2 separate regions of the Homo sapiens genome follow, and region 1 is linked to region 2. The links are contacts of gene promoters, found by promoter capture Hi-C in human tissues and cell types (Jung and others, 2019). All regions are on one chromosome and are shown on one strand. Each heading gives the region's core, a stretch centred on a gene start or on the middle of the fragment in contact. The rest is flanking DNA. Distances are from core to core; before and after follow the strand shown. Region 1 overlaps WBP1L (WW domain binding protein 1 like). Region 2 holds the start of CNNM2 (cyclin and CBS domain divalent metal cation transport mediator 2).

Region 1 (7,505 bases), core at 341-2,840, 130 kb before region 2:
GTTTCCAGAGGGGGAAAAAAAAGAGAGGGGAGACTAGACTAACACATGGGAAGCAATAGGCCAGGACTCCTGCTGCATCATCCCCCTTCTTGAGCTTACTTTCTTCATCCTCAGCCCTTCTGTACTCTCCTTCTACCCAATTTGAAAATGTGTGCCCTTGAACAGTTCTCTTTATTTCCCTCAGGTCTTTGAACAGTCTAAAAAACCAATAGTGGTCAGGCACGGTGGCTCACGCCTGTAATCCCAGCACTTTGGGAGGCCGAGGTGGGCGGATCACCTGAGGTCAGGCGTGCGAGACCAGCCTGGCCAATATGGTGAAACCCTGTCTCTATTAATAATACAAAAAATTAGCTGGGCGTGGTGGTGCACGCCTGATGTCCCAGCTACTCGGGAGGCTGAGGCAGGAGAATCACTGGAACCTGGGAGGTGGTGGTTGCAGTGAGCCGAGATCGTGCCACTGTACTCTAGCCTGAGTGACAGAGACCCTGCCTCAGGAAAAAAAAAACAAAACCAATACTATCAGGGAGAACGTGATCTTAACTTTCTTTCTTTCTTTTTTTTTTTTTGAGACAGTCTCACTCTGTCACCCAGGCTGGAGTGCAGTGGTGCGATCTCGGCTCACTGCAACCTCTGCCTCCTGGGTTCATGCCATTCTCCTGCCTCAGCCTCCCGAGTAGCTACCACGCCCGGCTAATTTTTTGCATTTTTTAGTAGAGACGGGGTTTCACAGTGTTAGCCAGGATGGTCTTGATCTCCTGATCTCATGATCCGCCTGTTTCGGCCTCCCAAAGTGCTGGGATTACAGGCATGAGCCACCACACCTGGCTGATCTTAACTTTCTAATTGTAAAAATATAGGTAAAAATATAGGTGAATACATGAAGCTTTGCCTCCTTACCACCTACAAATATGTTTCTAAGGACCTGGGCTTGAAAGTGCTGCATTTTCAGAACTTGAAGATTCTATCTAGGATAGAACAAAAATAGCTGATTCTAAGTTAAAGTTGTTTGCTGTCTTATTTAGCCATTTCAAATGTCTGCTTTATGAAAACTGCGTTATCCTTTAGCTACAGAGCATTACCAAAATCATTTAGAACTTTTTCCTAGTAGATATGCAGTGCTAGACTTTGGTCTCCTTTCTAGAAAGCCATTCCTGGTTCAAGAATGGAAGGAAAGTTTGTTTTGTTGCTTACTCTGCAAGAGCAGCCACAACCTGGCTGGGGGGGATAAATAAAGGCTCAAGGTAAAGAATAAGTATGAGAGTTGCAAAAATATTTATATATTTATTCAAGTCTCCACCATAACCTAAGGGAGGGACTAGCCAAAGCCAACAATGAATTCATAAACTGTGGTACTTTGGAGATTATTTTATTTTATTTTATTATTTATTTTTTACTGAGACGGAGTCTTGCTCTGTTGCTCAGGCTGGAGTGCAGTGGCACAATCTCGGTTTGCTGCAACCTCCACCGCCTGGGTTCAAGTGATTCTTGTGCCTCAGCCTCCTGAGTAGCTGGGACTACAGGTGCGCACAACCACGCATGGCTAATTTTTTAAATATTTTTAATAGCGATGGGTTTTCGCCATGTTGGCCAGGCTGGTCTCGAATTCGTAACCTCAGGTGATCCACCTGCCTCAGCCTCCCAAAGTGCTGGGATTACAGGCATGAGCCACTGCACCCAGCCTGGAGATTATTTTAATTGTTATACAAAGCCTATGAGATCTGACCTCAGCTGAATTCTTAGCTCCCCTTTCACACTGCTTTCCCTGAGATCACTGTACTCAGCTACACTAGTCTTCTTTCTCTTCCTTGAGCACACCAAGCTTGTTTCTGCCCTGGTGTTTTTGCGTGGATTTGATATTTCTTCTTCCTGGAACACTGTTCTCACCGGTCTGGTTAAGCTGGCTCTTTTTCAGCAGTCAGGGCTCTACTCAGATGTCACCTACTCAGAGTGGCCTTTCCTGACCACCCTATCTAAAACTCTTTGTCTCATTATCGTGTTTTATTATCCTCATGGAGCTTATTACTGCTAGTGAAATTATAATTTTGCTTGTTAATTGTCCGTCTTCCCAACTGGAACATATTTAAAAATCTTTTTGCCTTTGTCACTCTGCAGTTTCATACAGTGTACCTAGGTGTGGGCTTCTTATTATCTGGAAATTTTGTATCTTTTTTTTTTTTTTTTTGACAGTCTCACTCTGTCACCCAGGCTGGAGTGCAGTGGCATGATCTCGGCTCACTGCAACCCCCGCCTCTCAGGTTCAAGCGATTTTCCTGCCTCAGCCTCCCGAGTAGCTGGGACTACAGGCGCCCGCCACCACGCCCAGCTAATTGTATTTTTAGTAGAGATGGGGTTTCACAGTGTTAGCCAGGATGGTCTCGATCTCCTGACCTCATGATCTGCCCAACTTGGCCTCCCAAAGTGCTGGGATTATAGGCATGAGCCACCACGCCCGGCCGAAATTTTGTATCTTTAATCAGTCTTATATAGAAAATTTTTAGTTATCCCTTTAAATATTTCCTCTCCTCCATTCTTTTCTTCTCAAGCTTCTTTCTCATTTTTCATTTCCATGTTTTCTCTTGTAGAAGCACTTTGATGGTAATTTTCTCAGATCTGTTCTCTAGTTCATCAATTTCCTCTTTAACTTGGTCTCCTCTCTGTGTGACCCATCTGTTGAGTTTTTTCTTTCAATAACTATTTTTCTACAAGTTTTATCTGCCTGTTACTATTTCTTGTTTGGTAGTGTTCTTTTCTTGTGTTTTTAATTCTTTCTTTTTGGCTTTAATCATTTGAGATATGCTTGTATCTTATAGGGACTTTTTTTCAGGGGGTCTTATCCTGCTATTTGTTGAATTTGTCATCTTGTTTGTAATGGATTAGTTTTGCATACATTTTTATATTTTGGATTGTGAGCTTATCTTCAACAGAACTTTATTTTTATTTTTATTTTTGAGACAGTCTCTCACTGTCGCCCAGGCTGGAGTACAATGGTGCAATCTCGGCTCACTGCAACCTCTGCCTCCCGGGTTCAAGCAATTCTCCTGCCTCAGCGTCCGGAGTAGCTGGGATTACAGGCGCCCGCCACCACGCCCAGCTAATTTTTTTGTATTTTTATTAGAGACAGGATTTCACTATGTTGGCCAGGCTGGTCTCGAATTCCTGACCTCGTCATCCGCCCGCCTCAGCCTCCCAAAGTCCTGGAATTACAAGCGTGAGCCACCGCGCCTGGCCAACAGAACTTTATGTGTAGGAATCCTTTGTGCCGTGGCTGAGGGTAGATCTGTTCAGTTTTGTATTTCTGCCAGATGTTGCAGGTTTATTGCCAGCCTGGGACTACTTTTTGTGTTAAATTTTTGGCTTGGGGATCCTCAGACCATGTAGTAGTACAATTCAAATCTGAAATAATCTGTGATCACACATTATTAGAGGAGATACTGTTTTCCTCCCACTTCAGAGTTTTTATTGTCACTATGTGCCAGTGGGCTAATGTTTTTTCTAATCTGTTCTCCCCCTCTGAGGGCGCCAGCTTTGTACTGGTTCTCAGTTCCAATTCCCTGTTTCAGGTGGGCCCAAGATCAACAAACTACCCCACTTTCTAGGTCAACTGGAAAGGCCTGATCTCATTTACTACTGTGGTTTCTAGTTCCCGCTGTCGTTTTTGGTCCCAGGTGATCCTCCTTGCTTTCTTGCAAGTTCAGCTTTGTAATTAAAAGTGATTGTTGTATAGCCAGGGTTTTATAGCAGAATAATTTTTAGTTACCTACCCAGCTATATTGCCAGAAGCGGAAACTCTCCCCTCCCACCCCCCGAATCTCTTGCTTATTGCTATAGCTATAGCATCCCACATAGTGCCTGGCACATGGTTGGGGGAAGGGGGTCAATACATATGTGTTAAATGATTTGGAGAACTGAACATTTCCATTAGGAATTAGTTCTTGGCCAGGCACGGTGGCTCACACCTGTAATCCCAGCACTTTGGGAGGCCGAGGTGGGAGGATCCCTTGAGCCCAGGAGTTCAAGACCAGCCTGGGCAACATGAGGAGACCCTGTCTCTATTTAAACAAACAAAAAAAGATTTAGTTCTTCCTGCAGGGAAAGCCAGAGGTGATGCTCCAAATTAATTCATATCCAGCAGCCAAGATATTTGGTGTCCTGTGCTTTAGCATCCCAGGAAGGACTTCAATTCTTATTTTTCACTCTTAAACTTTAAAGTGTTTTCCTAAGGACATGACGCTGTTGCCATTAGCCAGTTGCTAGCAGAGTTTTCCAGACCCATAAATTGGCAGATTAAAACCATGCCTGGGGAAACATTACTGCCCAGTGTGTCTTTTTATGCTGGCACTTAGAAAGTTTTTACGCTGATTAAATTGACCTTTACAGTGGCTCAGCTAAGAATAGCAACTGTAAGATGTGGAAACTGTTGAGGAAAATGTTGTTAGTCCCACAGTTTATACTGCCACCAAAGAGAGGAGATAATTTTTTGCATATGTGCAAAAGGCATACTGTTTATCCTTTCCAGTGTAAAAATGTTTTTTCCAGTTTGGTGTTGGTCTTGCTTGTCTCTTCTTTATGCCTTTGTTTTCTGTTTGGTAACCATGTGTGCCTTGTCTCTCAGAGCTGGTCACTGTGGCACCGGGGCTGAAGGCACATACCTGTAATAGATGGGGCTCCTAGTAGCCACTACCACGGTCATTCCCGAGGTGAAAGGCCTCGCGTAAGCGCATTCATTATGCACCAAAGTTCCTTTTTGACAAGTTGTACATTTCTAGCTTTCTGGGGTTTTGTTTTAGCCATGGAGTTTTGTGCAAATGAAAACATTGCCAGGAAGATGATATCTTTAAAATGCAAGTATGATCTTGTTACCTCCCTGTACAGAGTGGTCCCCACCTACCTAACTTTCCTATCTACTACTTCTACCATCTCCTTCTAGCCAAAAGGGCTTTGCTTGTAGCGTTTTCTCTGCCTGCGATGTTCTTCCCTGTCCTCTTCCTAGTTACTTTTTTTTTTCTTTTCTTTTTTTTTTTTTTTTTTTGAGACAGTGTTTCGCTCTTGTTGCCCAGGCTGGCGTGCAATGGTGCGATCTCAGCTCACCACAGCCTCCACCTCCCGGGTTCAAGCGATTCTTCTGCCTCAGGCTCCCAAGTAGCTGGGATTACAGGCATGTGCCACCACACCTGGCTAATTTTTGTATCTTTAGTAGAGACGGGGTTTCTCCATGCTGGTCAGGCTGGTTTCAAACTCCTGACCTCAAGTGATCTGCCTGCCTTGGCCTCCCAAATTGCTGGAATTACAGACGTGAGCCACCGCGCCGCCTAGTTACTGACTTTTTAACCGTACTGTCAATCTCAGTTCAAGCTTACCTTCCTCCCAGAAGCTGTTCTGGACCTTCTTGACCAGTTCCTGGGTCTTTTACTCACTGTCACCTAATCTGCACTTTTCCTTCCCAACATTTATTGTAGTCGCAGTTTTATCTGCGTAAGTATTTTACCATCTTTCATTAGACTGTAAGTTCCGTGAGGATGGCCTAAACAATATAATAATGTGTAATGTGCTTTGAAGATGCTTGGAAGAAAAGCATAAGCTAGGTGTGGTGGCTCATGCCTGTAACCCCAGCACTTTGGGAGGCCAAGATGGGACGATTGCTTAAGGCCAGGAGTTTGAGATCTGCCTGAGCAACATAGTGAGACCCTGCCTCTACCAAAAAAGTAAAAATAAAAAAGCCAGATATGGTGGCACATGCCTGTAGTCCTAGCTACTCGGGAGGCTGAGGCAGAAGGATCACGTGAGCCCAGGAGTTTGAGGCTGTAGTGAGCTACAGTCGTGCCACTGTACTCCAGCCTGGACAACAGAGCAAGACCTTGTCTCCAATAAATACGTAAATAGTAAAAGCATAGGATAATCATAAAGGGTGCTGATAATTTTTCATATTTGACCTTTCCATTGCATTCTTTCCAGTTCCTTTTTCTTTTCTTCTTCATGTGTCTGGAGCAGCCCACATTGCCACAGAGAACTTGGCTGTTCTGAAACAATTCTGAGTGAAGGCAAAGTGCTTTTTGGATGGTCTTTCATGCTCAGCAATAGTGGCTCACAGAATAATGTTGATAGTAGGAGCCCAGAGAATTTAATTAGCCCAAGGTCACACAGTTAATAGCCCTACTGTAAAAGCTGGGCTTTGAACCCAGATCCAGCTCACTCTTTTTTTTTTTTGAGACAGGGTCTGGCTCTGTCACCCAGGCTAGCGTGCAGTGGTGCAATCATGGCTTGCTGCAGCCTCAACCTTCTGGGCTCAAGCAGTCCTCCCACCTCAGCCTCCCAAGTAGCTGGGACTACAGGTGTGCAACATCACACCCAGCTAATTGTATTATTATTTTTTTGGTTGAGATGGGGTTTTGCCATGTCCAGGCTGGTCTCAAACTCCTGGGCTCCAGTAATCTGCCCACCTTGGCCTCCCAAAGTGCTGAAATTATAGGCGTGACCCACCACACCTGGCCCCAGCGAACTCTTAACTACTTAGGCTTTGTGTAGATCTTAAGCCACCGGGAGGTGTTTGAGTCCTAGGTGTGCAACAATTAGGCTCCTCATATAAGGAGGGGTGGAAGATCACCAGGCAGCATTTCCACACCACTGTTCTTTGCTGTGGATTTGCATGAGAGGAGACATAGATTTCATGATATCTTGCATTGGCTTGAGGCTGCTATGTCAGGGTGGAAAGGGGATGGGGAGGATAATAAAACCTTAAAGTTGAAGGAGACGGCTGGGCGTGGTGGCTCACGCCTGTAATCCCAGCTACTCGGGAGGCTGAGGCAGGAGAATCATTTGAACCCGGGAGGTGGAGGTTGCAGTGAGTCAAAATCACGCCACTGCATACCAGCTTGGGCAACAGAGTGAGACTCCATCCTCCCCACCCCCACAAAAGAAAATTTAAGGAGACATTACAGGTGATCTTAACCAGACCTAGGGCCATTGAGTAACTTGCCTAAAGTTCATTTCTGTGTAGTGATAGAGCTGGGATCTACAAAAATTAGCCGGGTGTGGTGGCGTGCACCTGTAGTCCCAGCTACTCAGGAGGCTGAGGCAGGAGGATCAGTTGAGCCTGGAGGTCGAGGCTGCAGTTAGCTGTGATCAGGCCACTCTACTCCAGCCTGGGCAACAGTTAGACTCTGAGTGAAAAAGAAAAAAGTAGGGGGGTGCGAGGAGAGCTGGGGCCAAACCCAAGGCTCCTGGGTTTTCCATACCACTATTGACTGACACCAGCATGTCTCTCTGAAGGAACTCACTTTGGCACTCATATCTCACTATCTCCTGAATCCTCCTTCACCTCTTCCTTGCTAGAGGTACACCTTCTTTCGTACCGCTGCAGCAGAAAATGACAGTTCCCATAACCAAGACTATCCCAGGCAGCTCAGGGACTCTGTATTTAGAGGAGGGAGAAGGACCACAGGGGACTAGATATATAGATGGCCACAACTTGTGATGGTTCAACTTAGTGATTTTTCAACTTTATGGTG
Region 2 (7,580 bases), core at 1,466-3,965:
GTGGTGGCATGTGCCGGTAGTCCCAGCTACTTGGGAGGCTGAGCCCAGGAAGTGGAGACTGCAGTGAGCCATGATTGTGCCACTGCACTCCAGCCTGGATGACAGAGCGAGACCCTGTTTTGTTTGTTTGTTTTAAAAAAAGAATAAAGAATATCTAGGGCCAGGTGTGGTGGCTCATGCCTGTAATCCAGGCACTTTGGGAGGCCCAAATGGGTGGATCACCTGAGGTCCGGAGTTTGAGACCAGCCTAGCCAACATATAGTGAAATCTCGTCTCTACTAAAAATACAAAAATTAGCTGGGCGAAGTGGTGCATGCCTGTAGTCCCAGCTACTTGGGAAGCTGAGGCAAGAGAGAATCCTTTGAACCTAGGAGGCAGAGGTTGCAGTGAGCCGAGATCGCACCACTGCACTCCAGCCTGGGTGCCAGAATGAGACTCCATCTCTCTCTCTCAAAAAAAAAAAAGAAATATATATATATATATATATATATATATATATAAAATATATATGTATATAATATACATCTATCTATCTATATATCTACTATTCTTCTAGGCCCCTGTGATACAGCAGTGAACAAACAGACACACTTTCTGCCCTCAGGGAGCTTAAGTTCTAGTGGAAGAAGACAGATAACAAACCAAATCAATAATTTACATAGTGTATTAGAAAGTGATCTTTGCTTTCAAGAAAAATAAAGTAGACGCGGCATAGAGGGAGTGTTTTCCGCAAGTTTAAAATCAGATGGCTTTTGAGCAAAGCACTAAAGGAGGTGAACAACAAGGCTATGCTGACATCTGGGGGAAGAAAGTCCCAAGCCCAGGAAACAAACAGTAAGTGCAAAGGCTCGCAAGGGAAAATCCCTGGAGTGATGGAGAAACAGTTTGGAGAGAAATTAATTTGGCTTATTATCAGTCTCCTTCCACTAGGAGAGCAGCAGGTAATGAGGTCCGAGAAGTAACGGGAGGTAGCAGACCTTCGAGCCTAGTAGGATGTTGTAGGTCCTTTGGCTTTCTCTAGGATGAGATGGGAAGCCAATGGAGGCGTTTCAGCCAAGGGAGCAACAGAATCTCATGGACAAGATCACTTGCTGCTGGGTTGAGAAGGGAAAGGAACAGGTATCGAAGAGGAAAGATCAGTTAGGAGGCCACTGCAATCATTCCAGAAATTACTCATACCAGAAATTAATCAGAGACGTTTGATGCATTTACAAAAGCGGTGGTAGGGGGGCGCGGGATGTGCTTGTAGAATACAAAAGAGGTAGAGAAACATTAAACATTTTGAATGTTTTAAGTTTCTTTTTTTTCTTTTTTTTTTTTTGATACGGAGTCTCCCTGTGTCACCCAGGCTGGAGTGCAGTGGCGCGATCTCGGCTCACTGCAAGCTCCGCCTCCCGGGTTCACGCCATTCTCCTGCCTCAGCCTCTCCGAGTAGCTGGGACTACAGGCGCCCGCCACCATGCCCGGTTAATTTTTTGTATTTTTAGTAGAGACGGGGTTTCACCGTGGTCTACGATCTCCTGACCTCATGCTCCGCCCGCCTCGGCCTCCCAAAGTACTGGGATTACAAGCGTGAGCCACCAACGCCCGGCCTGAATGTTTTAAGTTTCAAGGAAAAGACCAATTTGGCAGCTACTCTGCTACCTCGTCACCTCCAGGTGACGTTGGGAGTACTGGGGAGCTAGGTTTCCAGAACTTTTTGCTCTTGAGTGACCTAAGACCCTAGCAGAGTTTGGTCAGTGTGATTAAGAATGAGCCTCTGTGGGTCTGTTTAGGATGCTTGCCCCCTCCCATTTCCTTAACTTGCCTGAATTCCTGCTGGGAATACAGATTCGGGGCCCTTCCCACTCTGTAAATATGGGAAAAGGTCTAGGAAGTATATACTCCTAGCAATAATATGTAGGGGTTCTATGACTAGGAAATTTGGGGAACTGTCCCCCTGACCGCTCCATCCGTAACTTCTGCACACCTTTTGGGGTACGCCGCCGACCTGGAAAGCGTTGCAGGGCGCTCATGCTGCCCGCAGGTGGCGCCACGTGATCGCGAGCCGCAGAGAGCCCGTACCCTAGGAGTCTCGAGGCGCGAGGACTGCTGGTCCGCAGCTGTGCCGGGGCCACCGACGCCGCTTACCCCGGCGGAGCGCCGCGCAGGTGGAGTTGGGGACAGCGGCCGGTGCCCCGGCTTTTTAGGCTGTGTGCATCCCAAGCCGCCTCTAGTTGGCTTCTCGGGCTTCCGGGGCAGGAGGGCGCGCGGCTTTGTGCCTACGAATTGAGAACTGGAGAGCCAGTAACCGGTGCACCGGGAACCTGCCGCCTTGCGCCGCAGGGCTTTAGTCCAAACCTGGCCGGTCCAGGCTCCGGGATCTACTACAGGGGCCCCTGGGGAGCGCGGGCCCCAGGGACGGCTCCTTCCCATTGGCAGCAGGACGGATGCCACGCCCCTTTTTCTTCAGCTCTCATCTTTGACTGGCTCTCGAGTCCCAGATGGCCACGCCCCCTCCCCTCGCACATACACAAGAGTCACGCGCCTTTCAGTTGGAAACTTGGCGTGCAGACGGGGACGGTGGCTCTCGTCGCCCCACCCACTTACCTTGCCATTGGTCCGCGGAGCGGCACACGGTCACGCCCCCATTCCAGCCCCCTGGCTGGGAGGGCGGGCACCCGCTTGTGATTGGCTGGTCGGCCTGCCTCTCGCGGGAGCAGCCGGCGCTCCTCTCCCTCCCTCTTTCCCTCCCGCGAGCCTCGGGGTTCCTCAGCTGGCTGAGGTGGAGTCAGTGTCAGTCAGGGAGGCGAACTGCTGAGCACTGGCCGCGGACGCTCCGTTGCAGTCTCGCCCAGGGGCCGGTACCTGCGCTCGCGCCGCCGGGTTGAAAGGATGAAGCCGCAGCTGGAGCAGCCACCCTATGATTGGCTGTGGCGCTTGTGAACCCAAAGTAAAGATGGCGGGCGGGCAGGCAGCCGCCGCACTGCCCACTTGGAAGATGGCGGCGCGCCGCAGCCTCAGCGCTCGCGGCCGGGGGATCCTGCAGGCGGCTGCGGGGCGGCTGCTGCCGCTGCTCCTGCTGAGCTGCTGCTGCGGTGCGGGCGGCTGCGCAGCGGTGGGCGAGAATGAGGAGACGGTGATCATCGGGCTGCGACTGGAGGACACGAACGACGTGTCGTTCATGGAAGGGGGGGCGCTGCGGGTGAGCGAACGGACCCGGGTCAAGCTGCGGGTGTACGGGCAGAACATCAATAACGAGACGTGGTCCCGCATCGCCTTCACCGAGCACGAGCGGCGGCGCCACAGCCCGGGGGAGCGCGGGCTGGGGGGCCCCGCGCCGCCAGAGCCGGACAGCGGCCCCCAGCGATGCGGCATCCGCACCTCAGACATCATCATCTTGCCCCACATCATTCTCAACCGCCGCACCTCGGGCATCATCGAGATCGAGATCAAACCGCTACGCAAGATGGAGAAGAGCAAGTCCTATTACCTGTGCACGTCGCTCTCCACGCCCGCCCTGGGCGCCGGCGGCTCGGGGTCCACGGGTGGCGCCGTCGGGGGCAAGGGTGGCTCGGGGGTGGCCGGGCTCCCGCCGCCCCCGTGGGCCGAGACCACCTGGATTTACCACGACGGCGAGGACACCAAGATGATCGTAGGCGAAGAGAAGAAGTTCCTGCTGCCCTTCTGGCTGCAGGTGATCTTCATTTCGCTGCTGCTGTGCCTGTCGGGCATGTTCAGCGGCCTCAACCTGGGGCTCATGGCCCTGGACCCGATGGAGCTGCGCATCGTGCAGAACTGCGGCACGGAGAAGGAGAAGAATTACGCCAAGCGCATCGAGCCGGTGCGCAGGCAGGGCAACTACCTGCTGTGCTCACTGCTGCTGGGCAACGTGCTGGTCAACACCACGCTCACCATCCTGCTCGACGACATCGCCGGCTCGGGCCTCGTGGCCGTGGTAGTCTCCACCATCGGTATCGTCATCTTCGGAGAGATCGTGCCCCAGGCCATCTGCTCCCGGCATGGCCTGGCTGTGGGGGCCAACACCATCTTCCTCACCAAGTTTTTCATGATGATGACCTTCCCCGCTTCCTACCCGGTCAGCAAGCTGCTGGACTGCGTCCTGGGCCAGGAGATAGGCACCGTCTATAACCGGGAAAAACTGCTGGAGATGCTCCGGGTCACCGATCCCTACAACGACCTCGTTAAGGAGGAGCTGAACATCATCCAAGGGGCGCTGGAGCTCCGCACCAAGACGGTGGAGGACGTGATGACCCCACTCCGGGACTGCTTCATGATCACCGGCGAAGCCATCCTGGACTTCAACACCATGTCTGAGATCATGGAGAGCGGCTACACCCGCATTCCAGTGTTTGAAGGGGAGCGCTCCAATATCGTGGACCTGCTGTTTGTCAAAGACTTGGCCTTCGTGGATCCCGATGACTGTACCCCCCTGAAAACCATCACCAAATTTTATAACCACCCCTTGCACTTTGTTTTCAATGACACCAAGTTGGACGCTATGCTGGAAGAATTTAAGAAAGGTGGGAAATTTTGGTCTCTTTCATTGGCTTGCTCTTTCTCTCTCCATCCTCCTCCCTACTTGAGTCCTCTACCCTCAGACCAACCCCCCAAGGCGAGTTGACCGGGATTTCTCCTTCTCCCTCTTAATTGCAAAGTTGAAAGGGTGGCGTGGATTTGGGGATGGATTGAACTAGTAAGTGCTACTAGGTTATTTTAAAGCACAAGACTGCCATCACTTACTTTTTCCCATTATCAAAAAGCAGGCTGTGTAATTTCTGTGCATGACACTTATTTATTTTTTTTTTTTTGGTCCCGTGTGTGGGCCTCTGTTCTTGAGGGGTCTGCCGCCTTCATTGTCTGGGTTCTCAGTGAGTAGGTGAAGGTAGGGGCTGGCTGATGCCATGCCATTTGGTGGACTTTAATCACAGGCATTTGGAAAACATGTAACTAGCTTTTGTAAACCCAGTGCAGTCCTTTTTCTCCTCCTTAAACATCCACACTGGCCTTTCAAAGATCGAAGTACATTTTCTATAGCTTCTGTTCCTGCTTGCCTGGCAACTTGTGGGGAAGATTGAGGTCTGCCTTTGAGGGTAAGGGGTGGGGTAAACTAAGTATCGCCAAAAAAAATCACCCATTTTGGATGTGACTTCTCTTAGCTAGAAAAGAGTTGTTGTTGTTGTTTTAAATTAAAGTTATTAATATGTAACTTGGAAAGATTAGAGGTTAGCCAGCCTTTTGTGAAGAGGCTGTATGTCCCGTAGCCTTCTTCACTATTTGTTTACATTTATCTGACAACAGTTACAGTTGCCCAAACCAAGTGTGATTTTGGCAGAAAGCTTGAACCTTTAACAGTGGGATGAATCCCTCTATTGGGGCTTATTTATTTCTTGACTCTTTCAGTTTAACGTGTTCTTTTTTTCCACCTTGATCATCCGATACATTAAGTTGAAGTATGTCTCCGTCAACTCTCACCGTTCCAAGATGCTTATACAGTACATCATTTATATTTGTTCGTTTGACCATATAATGAACAGGTAAATAGCAACTTGTACTATTATTATTGAAGTTCTGAATGTTTCCAGTAAATAGTGTTATTTGAAAACCAAGGGATGCTGAGTTTTTGAATTATTAAGATGCTAGGGCATGTGCAGGTATTGAAATGTGTATGTAACCTTTCGTGACCTGATAGTCCTCAAAACCAAGTTTCCCTTCTTCAAATAGAATTTTGATCACTGGTAGTAGTCTCTCCTCTGAAAAAGGTGATATGTACCTGGTGACAGCTCACTGGATGTGATGATCTGAACATACTCAAAGAGTGTATGGTTGTCCTAATGCCATTTTTCTGGTTGAATGATGTCCTCTCTAGAACAGGATCACATTGTAGTAAGTTTTATGTAAAGGAACAGGGCAGAATGTGCTTTGAAGATTGGTAAATTTGCATTTAAAAGCAGAAGGAGGTTCTTCTGGTTTCTTAAATAGTAAAAAGAAAATGTCCAGTATCTCTAGGTGACATAGCTTCTTTTGGGGGTGTCATTCTTTCACCACTAAGTTGTTAATTAGAGCATCTAACTTCTTTCATTTTGCAGTAATATCTGTAATACAGAAAGATATATTGGGATGTTTGGAAATGCCCCTGAAAGTCTTTCTATTGCTAAATTTCCCAATATTGATACAGATGATCTATTGCATGAGTTTTTTATTACTTAGAATTTTGCACATTTACTCATGAATTGATAACACTAGTTTGTACTTCTTGCTGAAGTCTTTTCTTCACTTCTATATCTTTTTACCTTGAGAATTTAGTTTTTCACCTCACAGCTCCTTAATGCCGCCCTTACTCAAAATTTCAAAATTCGTATTATTTTGAAATTTGTGCTTGATTGACCTTGAACAATTTTTCTATGATGGATTTATTTTCATGAGGAGCTGTTTTTCCTTCAGAATTACCACTCAGTATTTTTTTGAAATGTATTCTTTAAATGATGGAATTACTAATATTTCCCTATGAATTCTAGAAAAATAATAATGCACAAGATTTAATTTTTGTCTTTAACTAGAATGATGTATTTGGTTAAGAAGATAGTCCAAGTTAAAGGCATACATTCAAGCTAGTGGCATATTCGGAAGAGCAGGCAAAGATAGTTGGTTGCAAATGGGAAATTTAAGCCATGATCTTAAAAGGACAGAATGGATATTTGTTACTTAAACTATGGGAATAATTGATTTTTTCACCTTCCCTTTCTTGGATTTTTTTTTTATTATCAGTTTGGTTACTTTAACCTTACTGTCAGTTATATTGGTTCTTTTTTTTATGTCTGAGTTAAAACATTTTACCTGATTTTCATGTCTTCATTTTCTAAATCAATTATGACAGTGTTAACAATCAACCTTTTATTTTTCTCTACTGAATAACGGCGTATTAAATGGTTTGAAGACTTTTTCTTCCTCTACCTCTCTCCTAAATTCCTCATTTACAAAAGAAAACCCAAAACAAAACAAACAACCCCAACAATACCAATTGTAACTCCCCAGACCAGTTAGATCATAGATCCAGATCTCATTGAAAATTATCCTTTTGGCTAGGCATGGTGGCTCATGCCCGTAATCCCAGCACTTTGGGAGGCCAAGGTGGGCAGATGGCTTGAGCCCAAGAGTTTGAGACTAGCCTGGGCTACCTGGTGACACCCCGTGCCTACAAAAAATACAAAAATTAGCTGGGCGTGGTGGTGTGTGCCTGTGGTCCCAGCTCCTTGGGAGGCCTGAGGTGGGAGGATTCCTTGAGCCTGGGAGGCGGAGATTGCAATGAGCTGAGATGGTGCCATTGCACTACAGCCTTGGGGACAAAGACCCTGTCTCAAAAAAAAAAAAAAAAAAGAAACAAAATTGTCCTTCCTAGTTAAGAACTTCTGTATTGAAGACTTTCCTGTATATAGCTGTAGAGAATTAGTCTGAGTTGTTCTTTATTAAAGAGGAGGAAATAGAATGTTCTGAATGTGGGAAGAAAAGCCACCTTTATATTAGTATATGTGAATGTCTTCTTTCTTCTTCCTTTTTTTTTTCCCCAAGAGACAAGGTCT

What was found. The method cuts DNA at HindIII sites, captures the fragments that hold promoters and counts their contacts. A contact is called where the count stands out against the background at its distance.
Region 1: a contact is called between a fragment that was not itself captured here and the fragment with the promoter of CNNM2 in region 2, in 1 of the 25 tissues and cell types used here (adrenal gland).

What each region holds. Positions count from the first base shown.
Region 1 is chr10:102,787,583-102,795,087 of GRCh38, forward strand. All of the region lies in intron 1 of WBP1L (WW domain binding protein 1 like), which reads left to right. Among named protein-coding and RNA genes, the nearest start is that of CYP17A1-AS1, 41 kb to the right of the region's middle. The HindIII fragment of the contact is 4,714 bases long and covers 1-3,947 here.
Region 2 is chr10:102,915,579-102,923,158 of GRCh38, forward strand. It overlaps CNNM2 (cyclin and CBS domain divalent metal cation transport mediator 2), which reads left to right and starts at 2,716. Exons shown (of 8, transcript NM_017649.5): 1 at 2,716-4,523. The coding sequence starts at 2,903. It overlaps LOC107984265 (a long non-coding RNA gene), which reads right to left and starts at 2,757. Exons shown (of 3, transcript NR_160733.1): 1 at 2,590-2,757. RefSeq lists enhancers at 1,669-2,355, 2,356-3,042 and silencers at 2,512-2,691, 3,302-3,391. The HindIII fragment of the contact is 11,141 bases long and covers 1-7,580 here.